3 separate regions of the Homo sapiens genome follow, and all the other regions are linked to region 2. Evidence: promoter capture Hi-C in human tissues and cell types (Jung and others, 2019). All regions are on one chromosome and are shown on one strand. Each heading gives the region's core, a stretch centred on a gene start or on the middle of the fragment in contact. The rest is flanking DNA. Distances are from core to core; before and after follow the strand shown.

Region 1 (4,129 bases), core at 1,460-3,959, 610 kb after region 2:
TGGAAGGCGGGGGCTGCCCCGCGCGTGCCCCGGAACCTGGGTAAGTACGAGCATCTGTAGATGGGAAAGGGTGGATCTACTAGGCATGGCCCAGTGAGCTGACAGGCCCTGACCCCAACCCCCTCAGGCCCCGCCCCACAGACAGCCCCCACCTCCTCCACTGGGCCTGCCCTACCGACATGCCCCACCTCCCGCCCCGCAGGCCCCACCCCACTGACAGGCCCCGCCTCCAGCTTCTCAGGCCCCGCCCCACTGACAGCCCCTGCTTTCAGCCCCACAGGCCCCGCCTCACCGGTAGGCCCCACCTCTTCCACCGGCCCCGCCCTGCTGACAGGCCCCGCCTCCAGCCCTGTGGGCCCTCCCTCCGGTCTCCAAGCTTCAGTGAACCTTTTTCCTACCATCTCTGTGGCACCCTCAGCTGACACCTCCAGCGAGAGGAGCATCTACAAGTAAGTAGGGAGACAGAGGCCACCCTGGAGTCCTCTCTCCCATTGTCCCTCCGCTTTGCGCCCCTCCATGGGCACTCAGCCTCCTCTGCCCAAACGCGTGCTTTCTCTCTCTCTCTTTCCAGACTTCACCAAACTGCTTCCGTTTGGTAAGTGACTGCCAGCGGGTGGGGTTCGGCTCTGACTGGATCTCCTCCTCCTGTGGTTTCCTTTGTCTCCTCCGACGTTCTGCCTGTCTTTGCCTCTTGTCATGTCTCCCGCCCACTATCTGTCACTCCCTTGTTCTGCTGCCTCTGTCTCTTCCAGCACCCTGTCCTGCTCCACGTCAGTCTCTCCCCTCCACTTCCAGTTTCCTCGTGTCATACCTTCCCCCACTTCCCACTGCGGCTGGGAAGGAACCCCAATATCACTGCCTAGCTCTGTGTGGGTATGAGCAACCATGGAGCTGACACCACAGTTACCATCTCTTCCTCTCATCCCCCCTACCCAGGGCCCCTGAGAGCCCACCCGTCCCCCAGTCCCCTCCTGGGCAGGCCAGGCTGGAGTAAGTACAGAGGCCGGCCTGCCAGGCCTGCCATGTGCTCAGGGCTTCAGCATTGCTTCCCCCAGCAGGGGTTTCACGTGCCTGATGCAACCAAAGCTGGGGGACTCAGGCCTATCCTCTCCCAGACATATGCCTCCTCGGTAACCCAAAGGCTAAGCACTGGGAACCAATTCACTGGGGTCACAGTGGTCCCTGTGCTTCAATAGCAACACCTTAGCAGCCAGAGATGGGGATGTGGACACCCAACCTGGGGCTCATTCTGCCAAGTCTTCAGCTCAGAAGCGAGCAGGGAGGGGACCTAGGGTGCTGTGTGGTGTGTGGTGTGGGGGTGGAGGGGTAACCTAAGGCTGAGGGAAAGGCAGGGACTGAGAGCTGACAGAGGCTGGAGGGGCCAGAAAAGAAACACTGGATTGCACCCATTATTTCAGCATAAACTGAGGGTCCACTGTTTACCACATCCGTTTTTTTTTTGTTTTTTTTTTTTTTGAGACAGAGTCTTGCTCGGTCTCCAAGGCTGGAGTGCAGTGGTGTGATCTCAGCACACTGCAACCTCTGCCTCCCAGGTTCAAGCAATTCTCCTGCCTCAGCCTCCCAAGTAGCTGGGATTATAGGCCTGCACCAGGATACCTGGGTAATTTTTGTATTTTTAGTAGAGACAGGGTTTCACCATGTTGGCCAGGCTGGTCTCGAACTCCTGACTTCAAGTAATCCACCCACCTCTGCCTCCCAAAGTGCTGGGATTACAAGCGTGAGCCACCGCACCTGGCCTGTTTACCAGGCCCTTTCCTGGGCATAGGCTCCCAGAAGCTACCAGACATGCCAAGGGAGGGACAGCCTGATATGCCCATTGGGACAGCTATCCCCTTCCCCTGCTCTAAGAGTCCTTGTCTAGACTCAAGACACCAGCCTGGGCAACACAGTAAGACCTCATCTCTACAAAGAAATTTTTTAAAATTTGGCTGGGTGCATCATTCACACCTGTAATCTCAGCACTTCAGGAGGCTGAGGTGGGAGGACTGCTTGAGGCCAGGAATTCAAGGCCAGCCTGAACAACACAGTGAGACCCTGTCTCCTCAAAAAAATTAAAAAATCAGCTGGACGTGGTGGCACATGTCTGTAGTCCCAGCTACTTGGGAGGCTGAGGGTCAAGCCCAGGAGAGTGAGGCTGCAGTGAGCTATGATCACACCACTGTACTCCAGCCTGGGTGACTGACAGAGTGAGACCCTGTCTCTAAAAAAAAAACCAACCAAAAAAAAACCAGGACAGTGAACATGAACGAGGTTGCAAGTTAGATGTTAAGTAGATCCTCTCCCTGTGTTTTCACCTGGGAATGCTGGGTTGGTAGTAATCCTCCCCAGATGTGGAGGACTGAAGAGGGGCTGGCCTTGGGGGGGGTGTGGTTCTGGTCTGCTCAGCGCATGGACTGTTCCCTGTGTGTCTGTGCGTGCCTGCAATTGGGGGTGGTGTCCAGGGGCTCAGCAAGGCATGTACACCTGGGCTGGGGTGTGTCAGACGCTGTCAGTGACAAGCACCTTCCCTCAGAGCCCGGTTCCTGGAGAATGTGGCGGCAGCAGAAACAGAGAAGCAGGTTGCGCTGGCCCAGGGCCGGGCAGAGACACTTGCCGGGGCCATGCCCAATGAGGCGGGTGGACACCCAGGTGAGTAGGTGGGTGAGCAGGCAGAGCCTGCCTGTTGCTTTGTTGCCCCACAGGGGGCATGGCACTGACAGCTCCTTCCCTTTCTTTAGATGCCCGGCAACTCTGGGACTCCCCAGAGACAGCCCCTGCAGCCAGAACACCCCAGAGCCCTGCCCCCTGTGTCCTGCTCCGGGCCCAGCGAAGCCTTGCACCAGAGCCCAAGGAGCCACTGATACCAGCAAGCCCCAAGGCTGAGCCCATCTGGGAGCTCCCTACCCGTGCACCCAGGCTCTCTATTGGGGACCTGGACTTTTCAGATCTAGGGGAGGATGAAGACCAGGACATGCTGAATGTAGAGTCTGTGGAGGCTGGGAAAGACATCCCAGCTCCCTCACCCCCACTGCCCCTGCTCTCGGGAGTACCCCCCCCTCCCCCACTTCCACCTCCCCCACCCATCAAAGGCCCCTTCCCACCACCTCCACCTCTACCTCTGGCTGCCCCTCTTCCCCATTCAGTGCCTGACAGCTCAGCCCTCCCCACTAAGAGGAAGACAGTAAAACTTTTCTGGCGTGAGCTGAAGCTGGCTGGGGGCCATGGAGTCTCTGCAAGCCGCTTTGGGCCCTGCGCCACCCTCTGGGCTTCACTGGACCCTGTCTCAGTGGACACGGCCCGACTGGAACACCTCTTTGAGTCTCGTGCCAAAGAGGTGCTGCCCTCCAAGGTAAATCCACTCATCTGCAAGGTAGCCCCAAGGGAGGCAGGAGGGAATCAGAGCTTAAGGATCTGACCTGTTGGAGCTAGTCACTCACTTCCCACATGGGGAAACCAAGGCAAAGAAAGGAGTAGGAAATTGTCCAAGGTCTCCTAACAAGGGATCAGCAGTGCCCCAACTAGAATCTAAATGTGGCCGGGCATGGTGGCTCACACCTGTAATCCAAGAGTTTGAGACCAGCCTGTGCAACATAGTGAGACATTATCTCTACTAAAAGTTGGTCTGGGTGTAGTGGCTCATGCCTGTAATCCCAGGACCTTGGGAGGCCGAGGCAGGTGGATCATTTGAGGTCAGGAGTTCGAGACCAGCCTGGTCAAATTAGCAAAACCCCGTCTCTACTAAAAACACAAAATTAGCCAAGCGTGGTGGCGGGCACCTGTAATCCCAGCTACTCGGGAGGCTGAGGCAGGAGAATCACTTGAACCCGGGAGGTAGAGGTTGCAGTGAGTCGAGATCGCACCATTGCACTCCAGCCTGGGGGACAAGAGCAAGACTTCGTCTCAAAAATAACTAAATAAATAAAAATAAATAAATGTTAAAAAAAAAATTAGCCGGGCATGGTGGCTCACCCCTGTAATCCCAGCACTTTGGGAGGCCAAGGCAGGCAGATTACTTGAGGCCAGGAGTTTGAGACCAGCCTGGCCAACATGGTGAAACCCCGTCTCTACTAAAAATATGAAAATGAGCTGGGCGTGGTGGCTCATGCCTGCAATACCAGCTACTTGGGAG
Region 2 (4,374 bases), core at 955-3,454:
TTGAAACCCTCAGAGGCGAACTATCACAATATAGCTTAGTTACCAGTTGGTCCTTCTTGTTGAAAGGATACAGGGAGATAATCCATGGACAAACTGGGCCCATTTGGTGCAGTTTCCAAACTCTTTAGGGTGAGCTGGGCCAGGAACTCTGTGAGGACCTTATAAGGCCAGGATCCATGTGCTTAGGGCCCATTTTTGGAAAAACTGGTCATTGAAGCATCTCTACTTTCAGGGTCAGCCTGGTCTTTCAGAAAGGCTGAGGCCTATTTCCCCATGTTTCAAGGACATTTAACTATGTTTTTGTAAAAATAAAATGGCGAGACCCAAATAAAAACCTTACTTTTTGTTTAATTTGTTTTGCCAAACAAACACAGTGAAAACTTTAGTCTGACTAATTGTACAGAAAATAGAATTTGTAACCAGTAGCAAACAAAACAGGATAAACCTAAGTCCCTGGCAAGCTGGATCTCCATCAGCAGGTCATCCAGATCCCCTTGTAAATGGCCTCCTGGGAAAATAAGTCCTAGGAGGCAGAGGCACAGATTTACCAGTCCCCATCAGAATCACAGGCTGCACCTGGGAAGGAAAAGCATGAAAAGGAGGAGAACTGATGTTACTTGAATCTCTTATCACTACACACATTAGAGTTGTCTGACTGCTGACCAACCTTAAGGTATGGTTTTCCCAAACCTATAGTCCCTGGACATCCCACCTGCATCCCTAGAGGGTAAGTTTCAAGTTCAGTGGTTCTGAAGCCTCTGCTTAACCAGAATCTGCAACAATAACTGGGGAGGAAGGGTAGACAAAGTCATAATTGCTGGTGTCACCAGGGCAGAGTCTAAGGCCCCAGCTTCCACTTCAGGAGGAAACAATTGAGGATGCCAGGTCACCAGCAAGAGAGTCCAGCTGCCTTAAGCCTCAGTACTGTCAACCAGTGCCCAGGAGTATAGAGGAGTTCAACAATGGCCTGCGGTCCCCTGGCTGGATGGGGTCTGGGAGTCCAGCAGGCTGCCGGGGCACCAGTTCACATTCCGTGCTTCTTGCGGATGACAGCCATGGCAAGCAGCCGATCCTTCTCACGCAGTTCTTCGCGCAGCTTGGCCTCAGTGAGACGCAGGTGGCGAATGCTGCCTTTCATCTCTTTCATCTTCACTTCCATCAGAGCCAGGATGTCCCGCTGCTCATTCAGCTTGCGCAGGAGCTCCTCCTCCGTGGTGCCTGACGACAAGGAGTACGAATGGTCGGAGCCAGTATCAGGGAAGCCCTCTTCCCCTACCACCACCAACTGGGGGCCCATAGGGCACTCGGCAGCCTCCAGCCCTGCGGTAGCAGCCTGTAACTCCGACGCGGCGGCCGCAGCGGCTGCGCCCTCTGCGGCTGCAAACTCCACTTGCACTGTGAGATCGATGGGCTTCACGTCTTCTCCAGTGGGAGTGATGGGCGCCGGCTGTACGGATCCCGGAGCCTGACTGCTGTCTACAGTGGCCTGAAGGGTGAGAAGCACGGCCGCGGAAGCAGATACCAGGTTCGGCTGCAGCTGGGCAGTCTGGGCAGTGGAGGCAGAGGGTGAGGACTGCTGCTGCTGCTGCTGCTGCTGCTGCTGTTGCTGCTGCTGCTGCTGTTGCTGCTGTTGCTGCTGCTGCTGCTGTTGCTGCTGCTGCCTGCGGCGGGCGGCCGCGGCCCCAGCGGGTCTGCGCGCTACTTTGCGCTCATTGACGCCGCGCAGCGGGAAGATGGTGGGGACGCGTACCGTGTAGGTCTTGCGGCCGCCCTGGAAGTGAACGCTGCAGAGACGGTGGCCTGTGGTGGGCTGGAAGGTGGAGAAGCACCCACTGACGCCGGCACGCGACACGTTCTTGAGCCAGAGGCGCCGCAACTCAGCGTCCTTTGGAAACGTGTAGAAGTGCAGCGCCTTGTCCCGGTGCGAGTTGTTGTAGCAGCCTGGCACGCAGCACGTAAAGCCAGGCATGGCTGCGCCGCGCGGCCCGGCCCGGCCCACCGGCCTCCTGCGCTCTTCGACGGCCCAGTGGCTACGCCGCCGCCCGCCCCTCGACGGGCGGCGCCGCGCGAGGCCTTGGGTGGTATCCCACCACTGCCGCTCGGCGCAGCCGGCCCGCCCGGCGCCCCGTGCCCAGAATACGCTTCCTGCCGGCCCGCGCCGCGCCGCCCGCCTGGCTGCCCGCCTGCGCTCGGGAGTGGGCCCCGGGGACGCCGCGAAGGACCGCCTGAGAAAGAGACTACGCCCCCCACAATGCCCCGCGCCAGAAGCGGCTCACTTCCGGGGCGGGTGTGTGCGGATTCCTGCCGCCTTCCAAGGCACTGCGATAGCCTCCGAAGAGCAGATTCTTTCCCCAGCCCGTCTTGTCCCCGGCGGGCGAGAGAGGCGTATTAGGTTGGAACGCTGTCGCCTGGACTGCTCCTCACGAGGACCCGAATCCTGATAGGGGCGTGGAGCGGGGCGGTGCGCGCCTCACCGGTGCGCAAGCGCGGTGGGTATATGCCCACGGAGACTACAAATCCCGTGATGCCTCGCGCTGAACTAGGCGCCTTCCCTCCGAAGCGCCGCCTAAGGGAAAGATCGAGTTACTGCGGACCAGGATTCGGGCGAGGTTGTGCTGTTTGCCAGAACCAGTTCCCCAGCCCCGAGCCCCTTTGAGTCGACGGCATTGCTGCAGCAGAGGGAGACGAAACCTGGGCCTCGGCGCCCCGAAGGGTCTCAGGAGCCCCTTTCTTTGCGTTGGGGACTCTCTCCTGATTCAGCTGCTGCCTGCGTTGACTAACTGATCTAAACAAAGTCTCCAGTAGACGCCTACTATGTGGCTGACACGGTGCCGGGAGTTTGCGGGAGTCAGACCGACTGGGCTCCTCTCTTGGAGCCTGACTACCTAGACGGATAAGCGTCTGTCTTTTGGATAATAGATCTGAATGCACGCGAATGGATGTCTACTCACAAATAGTAATCGCTCCAAAGGAATTAACAGGAGAGCAGAGAAATGGGGGGGAGGTGGTGGGGGCCAGGAATAAAAAAACGAACGAAAGCTTGGGTAGGGAGAAGTAGCCAATTCTTGTCCCAGGAACCAGTCTGTAAGGCCACATGGCAGAAAAGAGCTAGGCTCCGCCATTAAAGAGCCTGGAAAGGGGTGGCCCGGGTAGGGCCAAGCGTAGGAAAATACCAAACTGGGACATGTTAAGGATTTGGGGTTTTATTCTGCAGGCCACTGAGAGCTATTAAAGGATTTTATGGGAAAGGATTTGCATTGTAACAATACACCTCCCCCCACCTCAACTTATTTGAGGGAATCTTTTTTTTTTTTTTTTTTTTTTTTTTTTGTAAAGGAGTCTCACTGTGTCGCCAGACTGGAGTGCAATGGTGAGATCTCGGCTCACCGCAACCTCCGCCTCCTGGGTTCAAGCAATTCTCCTGCCTCAGCCTCCGGAGTAGCTGGGACTACAGGCGCATGCCACCATGCCCGGCTAATATATATATATATATATATATATATATATATATATGTATTTTGTATTTAGTAGAGACGGGGTTTCGCCATGTTTCTCAGGCTGGTCTCGAACTCGTGAGCTCAGGCAATCTGCTCGCCTCGGCCTCCCAAAGTGCTAGGATTACAGGCGTGAGCTAGGATCACGGCGCCTGGCTGGGGGAAAATGTTTTAAAGAACACAAAATGTTGTGGAAAGCCAGGGAGGGGCCAGGCAGTTCTCCAGGTGAATTACCTGCAAACTAGCCCTCCTTTGCCGAGTTCTTCCTTCTCCCAATTTTTTTTAAACTTTTACTTTAGGTTCGGGGGTACGTGTGAAGGTTTACTACATAGGTGAACTCGTGTCACCGCGATTTGTTGTACAGATTATTTCATCACCCAGGTATTAAGCCCAGTACCCAATAGTTATCTTTTCTGTTCCTCTCCCTCCTCCCGCCCCCCGCAATTAGACCCCAGTGTCTGTTGTTGTCTTCTTTGTGTTCATGAGTTCTCATCATTTAACTCACACTTGTGAGAATATGTGGTATTTGGTTTTCTGTTCCTGCATTAGTTTGCTAAGGATAATGGCCCCCAGCTCCATGCATATTCCCACAAAAGACATGATCGTGGTCACCTCCCAATTTTTCTTGTCCTTTTTTCTCTCCTGATAGCAGATCACAGGCATGAAATAGAAACCTAATATATATTATTTCTTTTTTTTCTTTTTTTATTTTGAGACGGAGTCTCGCTCTGTTGCCCAGGCTGGAGGGCAGTGGCGCGATCTCAGCTCACTGCAAGCTCTGCCTCCCGGGTTCATGCCATTCTCCTGCCTCAGCCTCCCAAGTAGCTGGGACTACAAGCGCCCGCCACCGTGCCCGGCTAATTTTTTTTGTATTTTTAGT
Region 3 (3,886 bases), core at 78-2,577, 520 kb after region 2:
TAAGAGTTCTTTATATATTCTAAAAACAAGTTCTTTATCAGACAAATGATTTGCAAATATTTTGTTCCATTCTGTGAGTTATCTTTTCACCTTCTTGATGGTGCCCTCTAAAGCACAAATGTTTTTAAATTTTGATTAAGTTCCATTTATCTATTTTTTTGGTCACTTTTGCTTTTAGTGTCACATCTAAGAAAGTTTTGCCTACTCCAAAGTCATGAAGATTTTCTATTTTCTTCTAAAGATTTTATGGTTTTAGGCTGGGTGCAGTGGCTCACGCCTGTAATCCCAGCACTTTGGGAGGCCAAAGCAGGTGGATCACGAGGTCAGGAGATCGAGACCATGCTGGCTAACACAGTAAAACCCCATCTCTACTAAAAATACAAAAAATTAGCCGGGCGTGGTGGCGGGTGCCTGTAGTCCCAGCTACTCAGGAGGCTGAGGCAGGAGAATGGAGTGAACCCGGGAGGTGGAGTTTGCAGTGAGCCGAGATTGTTACCACTACACTCCAGGCTGGGTGATACAGCGAGACTCCGTCTCAAAAAAAAAAAAAAAAAGATTTTATAGTTTTAGGTCTGTTTCACTTGCAGCTAATTTTTGTGTATGGGTTGAGGTAGGGGTCCAACTTTATTATTATTGTTATTATTATCTTTTATGCATATGGATGGGCAGTTGTCCCAGCACCATTTTTAATAAGGACTATTCTTTGTCCATTGAATCATCTTGGATTGCTTATCAAAATTCAATTGATCATAAGTGTAGGGGTTTTATTCTGTACTCTCAATTCTATTCCACTTATCTTTATATTTATCCTTATGCTGGTAGCACACTGTCTTGATCTAGCTTTGAAATAAGTTTTAAAAGTGTGGGATGTGAGGGTGATCTGGCTGTGACATCTGTCACTCCATTGATTGCCAGGGTTGATTTGGCTGATCTGGCTGTCTAGGCGGGTGTCCCCTTCTTCCCTCAACGCTCCACGTGCGTCCCTCCTGAAGCTGCGTGCTCAGTCAAAGAGGACGACCATCCCCAATAAAGGAGGACCAGTCTTCAGTCAAGGGTATACAAGTATCTGCTCTTCCTAGCTAGAACCTCCAAACAAGTTCTTAAGATCCGTTGTAGGAGAACGTAGGGTAGTCAAGCTTCCAAGACTTCAGACACATCCTAATGAGGCGCTGCATGTGGCAGTCTGCCTTTAAAAAAAAAAAGTGGGAAATGTGACTTCTTAAACGTTCTCCTTTTTTCAAGACTGTTTTAGCTATTCTGGATCCCTTGTATTTTCATATGAATTTTAGCATCAGTTTTTCAATTTTTGCAAAAAGTCAGGATTTTCACAGAGATTGTGTTGAATTTGTAAATCAATTGGGAGACTATTGCCATCTTAACGATATTAAATCTTCCAATCCATGAGCATGAGATATTTTTTCATTTATTTAGGTCTTTTAAATTTTCAACAATGTTTTGAAGTTTCCAGTGCACATGTATTTCATTCTTTTGTTAAATTTATTCCTAAGTATGTTATTTTTGATGCTATTGTAAATGGAATTGAATTGTTTTCTTAATTTCACTTTCAGATTGTTCATTGCTGAAGTATAAAAATACAACATTTTTAAATATTGCTCTGCATCTTTCAACCTTGTTGGGCTCATTTTTTTGTTTGTTTTTCTTTTTTGAGACAGGATCTTGCTCTGTTAGGCCAGAGTACAGTGGCACAATCATAGCTCACTGCAACCTCAAACTCCTGGTCTCAAGCCACCTTCCCACCTCAGGCTCCCAAAGTGCTTGGATTACAGGTGTGAACCACCATGCCTGGCCTGGACTTATTTCTAATAGTTTTCTGGTGAATTCCTTAGGATTTTTTATATACAAGATCATGTCATCAGCAAACAGAGATAGTTTATTTCTACCTTTTCAATCTGGATGCCTTTTTATTTCTTTTTCTTGCGTAGATCTCTTTTTCATTCCCCCTTTAGGAGGAGTCTGGCATGGCTCATGAATCAGCAGAGGACTTGTTTCATTTCAACGTAGGGGGCTGGCATTTCTCAGTTCCCAGAAGCAAACTCTCTCAGTTTCCAGACTCCCTGCTGTGGAAAGAGGCTTCAGCCTTGACCTCTTCAGAAAGCCAGAGGCTATTTATCGACAGAGATGGTTCCACATTTAGGCACGTGCACTATTACCTCTACACCTCCAAACTCTCCTTCTCCAGTTGTGCAGAACTGAACTTGCTGTATGAGCAAGCATTGGGTTTGCAGCTGATGCCTTTGCTGCAGGTAAGATGCTCTTGTTTTCTGGGAGTGGTGGATCAGTAACATGGCTTTACATCACTAAATATTGTTTCCTGTTATATATTGGTTGCTGAGATGACCCTCTTAATGGGCAAATGTAATAAGTGTGTTAAAGTAATAAATAATTTCCTCATTAGTATAGGGGTGAGTAAAAAGGAAAAAAAAGTAATAAACAATACACTGAAATTACCTGCTTTTGTTTTTTCGAGACAGGGTGTCTGCTGCAATCACAGCTCACTGCAACCTCCACCTCCCAAGCCCAAAGGATCTTCCCACCTCCCACCTCAGTCCCTCTGAGTAGCTGGGAACACAGGTGCATGCCACCATGCCCGGCCAATCCTTTCCATGTTGACCAGATTGGTCTTGAACTCCTGGGCTCAAGTCGTCCTCTCTAATTGGCCTCCCTAAGTGCTCCCTCAGCCTCCCTAAGAGCTGGGATTACCGGCATGAGCCACTACACCCCGCCTATATGTTCTTAATAAATGATTTCATCCCAACTGTGCTTTAGTTAGACTAGCAGCCACCATGGACCCAGAATGGGATTTACTATCCACTGAGAGGGTGCCCCTGGCTCTTGAAAATCCTATATTAAGCTACTTCTTGTTTTTTGTTTTTTGAATCTTAAAAGGAGAACACTTTAGATATTTTAGGATTTGCTATGTACATCATGTCTGAGATTTAAAATCTAAAAGATTTATCAAGAATATCACCTCTCATTGTGTCTGTTAGGTACACAACATGCATTTACACCAAAGCAAAAAGTTCTAATCTTGGGCCAAATGTCAAGAGAGAGAAAAAAAAAAACAAGTTCTGCAGAATCTTTCCTTTACCATCACTTCTTTGTCTTCCAAGAAACTTTATTATTATTATTATTATTATTATTATAAGAGCTTTAAATACCTTTACTTATAAACCATTAAAGTACTGCTAAAAACATTACCTTTCTTTCCTAATTTTTCTCCAAGCCACAGAAATCATTTTTGTGGCTGATCTTAAGTAGTTTATTCAGTAGTTTTTGAACAATTCTTTTTAACCTGGAAGAACTAAATATTACAACTGGGAAGGACCATTGAACATCCTCCGTATTAATCCTACCATCTGTACAAGGTGTTTATTCCGTCTCTATCAGCACTAACCCAACAAGCTGCAGTGTAGCTCAGTGTACCACCAACTGTGCCTCAACACTTTTTAGAAGAAAATTGAGATAGATCATGCGTATCTGGGCCATAGAGGAATGAGAACATTTCATAGTGCATGTTTTCATGGATGCTTACTAAATAATTCAGTGTTTTCTCTTAAAAGTCATTCTATATTTGGAAATCAGAAATTTTCTTTTTTTTTTTTTTCTTCGAGATGGAATTTCGCTCTTGTTACCCAGGCTGGAGTGCAATGGCGCCATCTCGGCTCACTGCAACCTCCGCCTCCCAGGTTCAAGTGATTCTCCTGCCTCAGCCTCCTGAGTAGCTGAGATTACAAGCACCCGCCACCACTCCTGGCTAATTTTTGTATTTGTAGTAGAGACGGGGTTTCACTATATTGGCCAGGCTGGTCTCGAACTCCTGACCCCAGTTGATCCACCCGCCTCAGCCTCCCAAACTGCTGGGATT

What was found. Contacts are between HindIII fragments. The study calls those that stand out against the background at their distance.
Region 1: a fragment that was not itself captured here is called in contact with the fragment with the promoter of THAP11 in region 2 in 1 of the 25 tissues and cell types used here (psoas muscle).
Region 3: a fragment that was not itself captured here is called in contact with the fragment with the promoter of THAP11 in region 2 in 1 of the 25 tissues and cell types used here (aorta).

The regions. Positions count from the first base shown.
Region 1 is chr16:67,232,877-67,237,005 of GRCh38, reverse strand. FHOD1 (formin homology 2 domain containing 1) reads left to right here. Exons shown (of 22, transcript NM_013241.3): 10 at 1-40; 11 at 273-449; 12 at 2,534-2,649; 13 at 2,739-3,349. Among named protein-coding and RNA genes, the nearest start is that of TMEM208, 7.8 kb to the right of the region's middle. RefSeq lists an enhancer at 1-236 and a silencer at 241-400. The HindIII fragment of the contact is 6,373 bases long and covers 1-4,129 here.
Region 2 is chr16:67,840,150-67,844,523 of GRCh38, reverse strand. THAP11 (THAP domain containing 11) reads right to left here and starts at 2,204. Exons shown (of 1, transcript NM_020457.3): 1 at 329-2,204. The coding sequence starts at 1,969. The coding sequence ends at 1,025. All of the region lies in intron 1 of CENPT (centromere protein T), which reads left to right. RefSeq lists enhancers at 881-930, 1,371-1,530, 1,242-1,988, 2,441-2,490 and a silencer at 2,011-2,190. The HindIII fragment of the contact is 20,232 bases long and covers 1-4,374 here.
Region 3 is chr16:67,318,967-67,322,852 of GRCh38, reverse strand. It overlaps KCTD19 (potassium channel tetramerization domain containing 19), which reads left to right. Exons shown (of 16, transcript NM_001100915.3): 2 at 1,968-2,264. It also overlaps the pseudogene RN7SKP118. Among named protein-coding and RNA genes, the nearest start is that of KCTD19, 5.8 kb to the left of the region's middle. The HindIII fragment of the contact is 4,411 bases long and covers 1-3,532 here.